Regions from separate parts of the Homo sapiens genome. Here region 1 is linked to region 2. The links are contacts of gene promoters, found by promoter capture Hi-C in human tissues and cell types (Jung and others, 2019). All regions are on one chromosome and are shown on one strand. Each heading gives the region's core, a stretch centred on a gene start or on the middle of the fragment in contact. The rest is flanking DNA. Distances are from core to core; before and after follow the strand shown.

The links. The method cuts DNA at HindIII sites, captures the fragments that hold promoters and counts their contacts. A contact is called where the count stands out against the background at its distance.
Region 1: a fragment that was not itself captured here is called in contact with the fragment with the promoter of ZNF468 in region 2 in 2 of the 25 tissues and cell types used here (adrenal gland and aorta).

The regions. Positions count from the first base shown.
Region 1 is chr19:53,407,117-53,411,644 of GRCh38, forward strand. All of the region lies in intron 3 of ZNF765-ZNF761 (ZNF765-ZNF761 readthrough), which reads left to right. It overlaps ZNF765 (zinc finger protein 765), which reads left to right. Exons shown (of 4, transcript NM_001040185.3): 4 at 582-4,528. The coding sequence ends at 2,011. It also overlaps the pseudogene LOC124904793. Among named protein-coding and RNA genes, the nearest start is that of ZNF765-ZNF761, 14 kb to the left of the region's middle. The HindIII fragment of the contact is 3,821 bases long and covers 1,369-4,528 here.
Region 2 is chr19:52,854,775-52,859,322 of GRCh38, forward strand. It overlaps ZNF468 (zinc finger protein 468), which reads right to left and starts at 2,845. Exons shown (of 4, transcript NM_001008801.2): 1 at 2,798-2,845. RefSeq lists an enhancer at 2,444-2,523. The HindIII fragment of the contact is 14,237 bases long and covers 1-4,548 here.

The DNA.
Region 1 (4,528 bases), core at 2,029-4,528, 550 kb after region 2:
TTCTTGTGCCTCGTGAGTCCCATGAGTACGTGGGACTAAAAATTTGGGACTAAAAAAGATTAAAAATTACATTTTGTAATCTTTTCTTATCTTCTCAGTGCTATGATTGTTTGACAATACAGAATTTCCATTGATTTTGGTTATCCTTACATAATCTTGTTGTGGATTATTTTCCAACACAGTACATCATGTGGTCCTTTAGCATCTATTTGTATACAGTAAATATGCTGTAAATGTGAAGAATATATACTTTTCATTGATGTGACAGTGATATGTTTTTTACAAACTGTTAGACACTTTAGGGTCACGATGGAAAAATATTCCTTACTTTAGGCTACACGTTTTTGTGCCCTGTCAGTGTTTTGTCACGATATTGGAAATAGACTTCCGTAAAAATAATTTGAAGCACATGTAATCGCCCTTTATTTGTTAAAGAATCTTATGCTTTTCTGTTCCTAAACTTTGAGGGTCATGTTTGCAAAGTTTAAAATAAGTATTGTTTTTTGTGTCATATTTACACATTTCAGCATTATTTACCATCTGTACTTAATTTGAAACCTTTTGGTGTGTATACTTTTTAGATATCTCTTCCAAATGCATGATGAAGGAGTTCTCGTCAACAGCACAAGGCAATAGAGAAGTGTTCCATGCAGGGACATCTCAAAGACATGAAAGTCATCACAATGGAGATTTTTGTTTCCAGGATATTGATAAAGATATTCATGACATTGAGTTTCAGTGGCAAGAAGATGAAAGAAATGGCCATGAAGCACTCATGACAAAAATCAAAAAGTTGACAGGTAGTACAGAGCGATATGATCAAAATTATGCTGGAAACAAGCCTGTTAAATATCAGCTTGGATTCAGCTTTCATTCGCATCTGCCTGAACTGCACATATTTCACACTGAAGAGAAAATTGATAATCAAGTTGTGAAGTCTATCCACGATGCTTCCTTGGTTTCAACAGCCCAAAGAATTTCTTGTAGGCCTGAAACCCATATTTCTAATGACTATGGGAATAATTTCCTGAATTCTTCATTATTCACACAAAAACAGGAAGTACATATGAGGGAAAAATCTTTCCAATGCAATGACAGTGGCAAAGCCTATAATTGTAGCTCACTCTTAAGGAAACATCAGTTAATCCATTTAGGAGAGAAACAATATAAATGCGATATATGTGGCAAGGTCTTTAATTCGAAGCGATACGTTGCACGCCATCGTAGATGTCACACTGGTGAGAAACCTTACAAGTGTAATGAGTGTGGCAAGACCTTCAGTCAGACATATTACCTAACATGCCATCGTAGACTTCATACTGGAGAGAAACCTTACAAATGTGAAGAATGTGACAAAGCTTTCCATTTCAAATCAAAGCTTCAAATACATAGGAGAATTCATACTGGAGAGAAACCGTACAAGTGTAATGAGTGTGGCAAGACCTTTAGTCAGAAGTCGTACCTTACATGCCATCGTAGGCTTCATACTGGAGAGAAACCTTACAAGTGTAATGAGTGTGGCAAGACCTTTAGTCGGAAGTCACATTTTACATGCCATCATAGAGTTCATACTGGAGAGAAACCTTACAAGTGTAATGAGTGTAGCAAGACCTTTAGTCACAAGTCATCTCTTACATACCATCGTAGACTTCATACTGAAGAGAAACCTTACAAGTGTAATGAGTGTGGCAAGACCTTCAATCAGCAGTTAACCCTTAACATTTGTAGACTTCATAGTGGAGAGAAACCTTACAAATGTGAAGAATGTGACAAAGCCTACAGTTTCAAATCAAACCTTGAAATACATCAGAAAATTCATACTGAAGAGAATCCTTACAAGTGTAATGAGTGTGGCAAGACCTTCAGCCGGACGTCATCCCTTACATACCATCATAGACTTCATACTGGACAGAAACCTTACAAATGTGAAGATTGTGATGAAGCTTTCAGTTTCAAATCAAACCTTGAAAGACATAGGAGAATTTATACTGGAGAGAAACTACACGTGTAATGAGTGTGGTAAGACCTTCAATCAGGAGTTAACCCTTACATGCCATCGTAGGCTTCATAGTGGAGAGAAACCTTACAAATATGAAGAACTTGACAAAGCTTACAATTTCAAATCAAACCTTGAAATACATCAGAAAATTCGTACTGAAGAGAATCTTACAAGTGTAATGAGTGTGGCAAGACCTTGAGTCATACGTCATCTTTTGTGTACCATCATAAACTTCATAGTGGAGAGACCTTACAAATGTGAAGAATGTGAAGAAGCTTTCTGTTTCAAATCCAACCTTGAAAGACATAGGAGAATTCACACTGGTGAGAAACCTTACAGGTGTAATGAGTGTGGCAAGACCTTCAGCCAGACCTCATCCCTTACATGCCATTGTAGACTTCGTACTGGAGAGAAACCTTACAAATGTGAAGAATTTGAGTTTTCCATTTCAAATCAAACCTTGAAAGACAAAGGAGAATTCATACTGGAGAGAAACCATACAAGTGTAATGAGTGTGGCAAGACCTTTAGTCAGAACTCATACCTTACACGCCATCGTAGACTTCATACTGGAGGATACCTTACAAATGTAATGAGTGTGGCAAGACCTTTAGTCAGAACTCATACCTTACATGCCATCATAGACTTCATACTGGAGAGATACCTTAAAAGTGTAGTGAGTGTGGCAAGACCTTTAGTCTGAAGTCATACCTTACGCACCATCGTAGACTTCATACTGGAGAGGTACCTTACAAGGATAATGAGTGTAGAAAAACCTTTCATGGGCAGTCAGCATTTTACAAATGTAATGATTGTCACCAAGTCTTGAGTAATGCTACAACTATTGCAAATCATTGGAGAATCCATAATGAAGAGAGATCCTACAAGTGTGATAAATGCAGAATAAATGCAGAAAATTTTTCAGACATCCTTCATACCTTTGCAGTTCATGGGTGAAGTCGTATTAGAAACCTTACAAATGTGAAGAATGTGATGAAGCTTTCAGATTCAAATCAAACCTTGATAGTCATAGAATTCATACTAGAGAGAAACCTTAGCAGTGTAATGAACGTGGCAAGGTTTTAAATCAAAAAGCAAAGCTTGCACATCATCATAGAATTCATACTGGAGATAAACGTTACAAATGTGAAGCATGTGACAAAGTTTACAGTCGCAAATCAAGCCTCCAAAGACAGGAGAATTCATACTGGAGAGAAAGCTTACATATGTGAAGAATGTCACCAAGTTTTCAGTCACACTCAAACCTTGAAAGACACAGGAGAATTCCTACTGGAGAGATAGCATAAAAATGTAAGAGTTTGTGACAAGGCTTTCAGGCATAATTCGCACCTGGCACAACATCCTAGAATTCACATTGGAGAGAAAGCTTACAAGTATAATGAATGTGACAGGTCTTTAGTGGGCAGTCAACACTTGTTTACCATCAGGCAATCCATGGTGTAGGGAAACTTTACTTATGTAATGATTGTCACAAAGTCTTCAGTTACACTACAACCATTGCGAATCATTGGAGAATCCATAATGAAGAGAGATCATACTAGTTTAATAAATTTGGCAAATTTTTCAGACATTGTTCATAACTTGCAGTTCATCGGCGAACTCGTACTGGAGAGAAACCTTACAAATGTCATGATTGTGACAAGGTCTCAGTCAAGCTTCATTCTATGCAAAACATAGGAGAATTCATACAGGAGAGAAACCTCACAAGTGTGATGATTGCGGCAAAGCCTTTAATTCACATTCACACCTCACTAGACATCAGAGAATGCATACTGGACAGAAATCTTATAAATGTCATCAGTGTGCCAAAGTCTTCAGTCTGAGCTCACTCCTTGCAGGATATCAGAAAATTCATTTTGGAGATAGTTGTTCCAAATACAATGTGTATAGCAAACCATCAAGCATTAATTGACACTAGAGTCAGTTCAGCATTGACTTGAGTTTGACTTAACATTGAGTTGAAGCCTTAATTGACATTAAAGTGTTTATGTTAAGAGGACTGGGCCAGGCACAGTGGCTCACACCTGTAATCTGAGCGCTTTGGGAGGCCAGCACCGGTAGATCACTTGAGTTCAGGAGTTTGAGGTCAGCCTGGCCAACAGACGTGAGCCATTTTCCCAGCCTGTTTTTTGTTTCTTTAACAAAAACTGATAGGGATTTTTTTTTTTTTTTTTGAGATGGAGTTTCACTCTTGTTGCCCAGGCTGGACTGCAATGGAGCGATCCCAGCTCACTACAACCTCCGCCTCCCAGGTTCAAGCAATTCTCCTGCCTCAGCCTCCAGAGTAGCTAGGATTACAGGCATGAGCCACCACGCCCAGCTAATTTTGTATTTTTAGTAGAGATGGGGTTTCTCCATGTTGGTTAGGCTGGTCTTGAACTCCCAGCCTCAGATGATCCACCCACCTCGGCCTCCCAAAGTGCTGGGATTACAGGCGTGAGCCACTGCGCCCAGCCCCAGTGATAAGGATTTTTATGGGTACCGTGTTGAATCTAAATCACATTGGGTT
Region 2 (4,548 bases), core at 1,595-4,094:
AGCACTCTGAAAGGCCAAGGTGGGTGGATTACTTGAGGTCAGGAGTTCAAGAGCAGCCTGGCCAACATGGTGACACCCTGTCTCTACTAAAAATACAAAAAGTAGCCGAGATTGGTGGGTATCTCTAATCCCAGCTACTCGGGAGGCTGAGGTAGGAGAACTGCTTGAACCTGCGCGACCCGAGATCGCGCCACTGCACTCCTGCCTGGGTGACAGAGTAAGACTCAAAAATAAAATAAAATACAAATACAAAATTAGCAGGGTGTGGTGGCACACACCTGTAATCTTAGCTACTTGGGAGGCTGAGGCACAAGAATTGCTTGAACCCAGGAGATACAGGTTGCAGTGAGCCAAGATCACAAGACTGCACTCACAGCCCGGAGGACAGAGTGAGAGTCTGTTTGAAAAAAAAAAAAAAAGTGCATTTCTGATGGGATTGACACAGAGATAAGAAGACTTGAGTAATGCCATAGACACTGATGGGTAGAGGGAACTTCAGATGGGGGTGGGAGGGCATGGGAGACAGCTCTGAGCCTAGACCTGAAGGAGAAAGGGACAGTGCCATCTTCATTTAGAAACATTGAATAAGAGCAGGGACAACAACCTGAGACAGGAAGGATTTTGATGTTTGAAAAAAGAGAAAAGCAAATGTGACTGGGGCAGAGGGAGTCAGATGAGGGTAAGCTCCCAGGAGGAGGCTGGACACTGGCAGGGACCCTGAACACAGGGCTGTGGAGCCAAAGTGAAGAGTCGGGCTTTTGTCCTGGGGAACACGGGAAGCAGGTGGAGGGTTCCCTGCCAGGCACTGACATGACCTGCTTTAGATGTAGCTGTGATATTCTAATACAGACAAAGGCCTCCAAAGATCCTCTCTGTTTCTGAGTCTACCGCTCTGTTTCTTCCATTCTTCTGCTTTTTTTTTTTTCATTTTTGGGGTACTGCATCCCACTGAAAATTCTAATTACAACTGGGCACTCTCCTCTACCAGAAAAAAAGCCACACCCAGACACCGCCTCTATTTTGCCAATCATTTCAGGGGTCAGGATCACTCAGGTTGAGCTTTTCTGGTCTAGCCCTTCGTCGCAAAGATGCAGGGAGGTTCACTGGGGCTCAGAGCTGGAAACATTTTCACGAAGTTACCCTGAGAAGGTCTGAGATGAGTGAGAAGGTGTGCCTGAATTCTTACATGGGGGCCTGGAAGGGCTAATGGGATGGGTTGGTCTTATCATCCCATTCTTAAAATTAGAGAAGCATTTTTCACATGCCTGGGTTAAAGAAAATTCTTTTGAAAGGTTCTGATGAAATTGACTCCCAACATTGAATTCTTCCTTACAAGAAAATCACACTAACATTTATAAAATGCAGCAGTGTAAACACACAGCTCTTGACCTTGAAAACAGGGAAACAGGGTCAGCTGTAGAACCAAGACATAAGCAAATTATTTCAATCAAGAAATACATGGGTGGACAGCTGAGGTGGTTCACACCTGTAATTCCAGCACTTTGGGAGGTGGAGGTGGGTGGATTACCTGAGGTCAGGAGTTTGAGACCAACCTGGCCAACATGGTGAAACCCTATCTCTACTAGAAATACAAAAATTAGCTGGGCTCCATCCTTGCAACTTATTTAACCTCCTGTTGGTCCTTCTCCCCAATCTTTAGATCGTCCTCAATCTCCATAGATTTCTGCCTCTTCTCCCATCTATGCGCCTCCTCTGCTCTCCCTGTTAAATTCTCTCTTCTCTGTTATAACCCCCTGGACCCAATCTGGCACCCCAGATCCCCAGGTGTCCTCCCCGCTGTGCTTCTCCCTCTGTTCTCCTTGCCACCAGCACCACTCTGCTCTGTCTGACCCGGCTCCACATCCCTCCTCCTCTCCCTCACTCTGATGAGCCTCCACATTTCTGCCCCTCTCCCTACCTTGCTGTCCTTCATCTCTCTGTACATCTAGCTTTTCTCTACATTTCTCCAGTTGCTTTTCTCCTCCTGCTTTCTTATCTTTTATCACTTTTGCTGTCTCTTGGCAAATCCCTCACCCATCCTCTACTTTGCCATCTGTTATGGGTCTTTCTCATTCTTCTTTTCTCTGTCTCAGGTTTTCTACTGCTCTCTCAGTCCCTCTCTCTGTCTCCTGATCCCTTTGGCCCACACGATCACAAGAGGGTTTGGAGTAAGACGCCTGCATCTCGGAGAAGCGCATTTTCCAAGTGCTGGAGCTGGGCGGGCAAGAACACCCCGCGTCACAGGACAAGCCCCAGGCACCTCTCCAACGAGGGCTCAGGGGACGCGGTGACTGCGGAGGGGAGATCTGGGGAGCAGCAGGGCCCAGCAAGAGGAGGAGGGAGGTGGGGAGCGACGACGCCTTCGGACAAGGGTGGGATCCGCAGGATCCCAGGACCACAGAACGCAGCCTTCCCGGGACTGGGGTCGCCGCGCTGTGCTCCAGGAACCCAGGAGAGTAAGGCTGGGAGGCGCACAGGGTGGGAATACACCTCTAGGGTGAGGACTTTAAAAAGAGCCGTGCGGAAGGAGTCAAAAAACGGTTTTGAGCAGGAAAACTACGCGATAGGAAACGTATACATTGCCCTATGGCAGAAAGACCCGGGACGGGACCAGCCTCAGGGCGACTTTAAACCTAAAAAGAAGGGGCTTCCGGACTCCCAGTAGAACATCTCCATTTGCTCTGAGTGAAGGAAGAAAGGCGAGAACTTCCAGGTCTATGGGGACCCCACATCCCATGTACAGAAGTGCCGGGGACCTGGGAAGCTCAGACTTAACACCACACAGAGCAAAACTCACCGCCCGCCGCGGCGTGACCGTCATTCCACGGGATCCACTTCCTGGTCTGCGCGAATCTGCGCGCGCAGGACAGAAACCAGGCCTGGGTGGAGCCAACGAGGAGGCGAGCGGGGCCCGGGTGAGGTGTGGGCGGGGCGCGAAGCGGCGAGACCTTGCCCTTTAGAACCCGCAGAGGGCGGGGCCGGAGCGGGACCTGTGCATCTCTCAGCCTCCTCCCAACCCGTTCTCCGGGTTTTGGCGGCGAGAGCCCCCAGGAAGGCAGACGGATAATTCAAAAGCCCTGGAATAGTCTGGAAGGAGGATGCAAACTAGAATGTAAAATGCAAAGCCCTTTCTGGGCGGAACGTAGGATTTCATGCTGATGGCCCACAGGACAGTATAGAAATCTTCTCCCTTTCTATTCTCCATTCACTCAGGAGGGAGAGTCCACCCAGTGCTCAGCTTCAGAGACATCCCTAGGGCCACAGCCTGGGATGCCAGACGGAGTGCTCAGGCCAGGGAGGAGTGAGGTCACCACCTGCTGCTTAAACACAGCAGGGATGCGGGCGTGGGAGCCTGAGGTCCCAGCTACTCAGGAAGCAGCGGCGGGAGGATCGCTCAGCCTGGGGGTCCAGGACAGCCTGCGCGACAATGTAACATTCCCTCCCGCAGTCTCTCTCTTTTTTAAATTTTTAAAATAAAATTTTTATTAGGCCGGGCACGGTGACTCACGCCTGTAATCCCAGCACTTTGGGAGGCTGAGGCGGGCGGATCACGAGGTCAGGAGATCGCGACCATCCTGGCTTACACGATGAAACCCCGTCTCCACTAAAAATACAAAAATTAGCCGGGCGTGGTGGCGGGCGCCTGTAGTCCCAGCTACTCAGGAGGCTGAGGCAGGAGAATGCGGTGAACATGGGAGGTGGAGCTTGCAGTGGGCCGAGACCGAGCCACTGCACTCCAGCCTGGGCGACAGAGCCAGACTCCCTCTCTAAAAATAAATAAACAAACTAAATTTGCTTGTGTGAGATAGGAATACAACATTACTCTTCTCCATATGGATATCCAGTTAGTTGTCCCAGCACATTTGTAAAAGAGATCTGTTACTTTCTCCTTTTTATTTACATTTTTTCTTTTTCTTCTTCTTCTTCTTTTTTTTTTTTTTTTTGAGACTGAGTATTTCTCTGTCGCCCAGGCTGGAGTACAATGGTGACATCTCGGCTCACTGCAGCCTCTGCCTCCTGGGTTGAAGCGATTCTTCTGCCTCAGCCTCCGGAGTAGCTGGCATTACAGGCACACCCACCATGCCCGGCTAATTTTTGTATTTTGGGTACAGACGGGGTTTCATCATGTTGGACAGGCTGGTCTCGAACTCCTGACTTCAAGTGATCCGCCTGCCTCGGCCTCCCGAAGTTCTGGGATTACAGGCGTGAGCCACTGTGCCTGGCCCAAGAAATACTCTTTACTTCGCTTTTTAAATGTTGAAAAAATACAATTGAAAACTAAAAAATCTTCCCCAAAATGAGAAATCATCTTCATGACAAAACAGGAAGAAATAAAAACCATTTTATTAGTAAATAAGCCTTAGACCAGAATGTGTTGGGAAATACAGGCAAAGAGCTGAGAGGTTGAAAAGAGAGAAACTTCACTGCTCTATACAACCCATTAAGTACATGTTTTCAAGATAAACACTAATCAGTCCTCAGGGAAGAGGACTTGACAAGTCTTTGGTCGCACATAGTTCATCCTGGCTCTACTTGGTAATGGAGGTG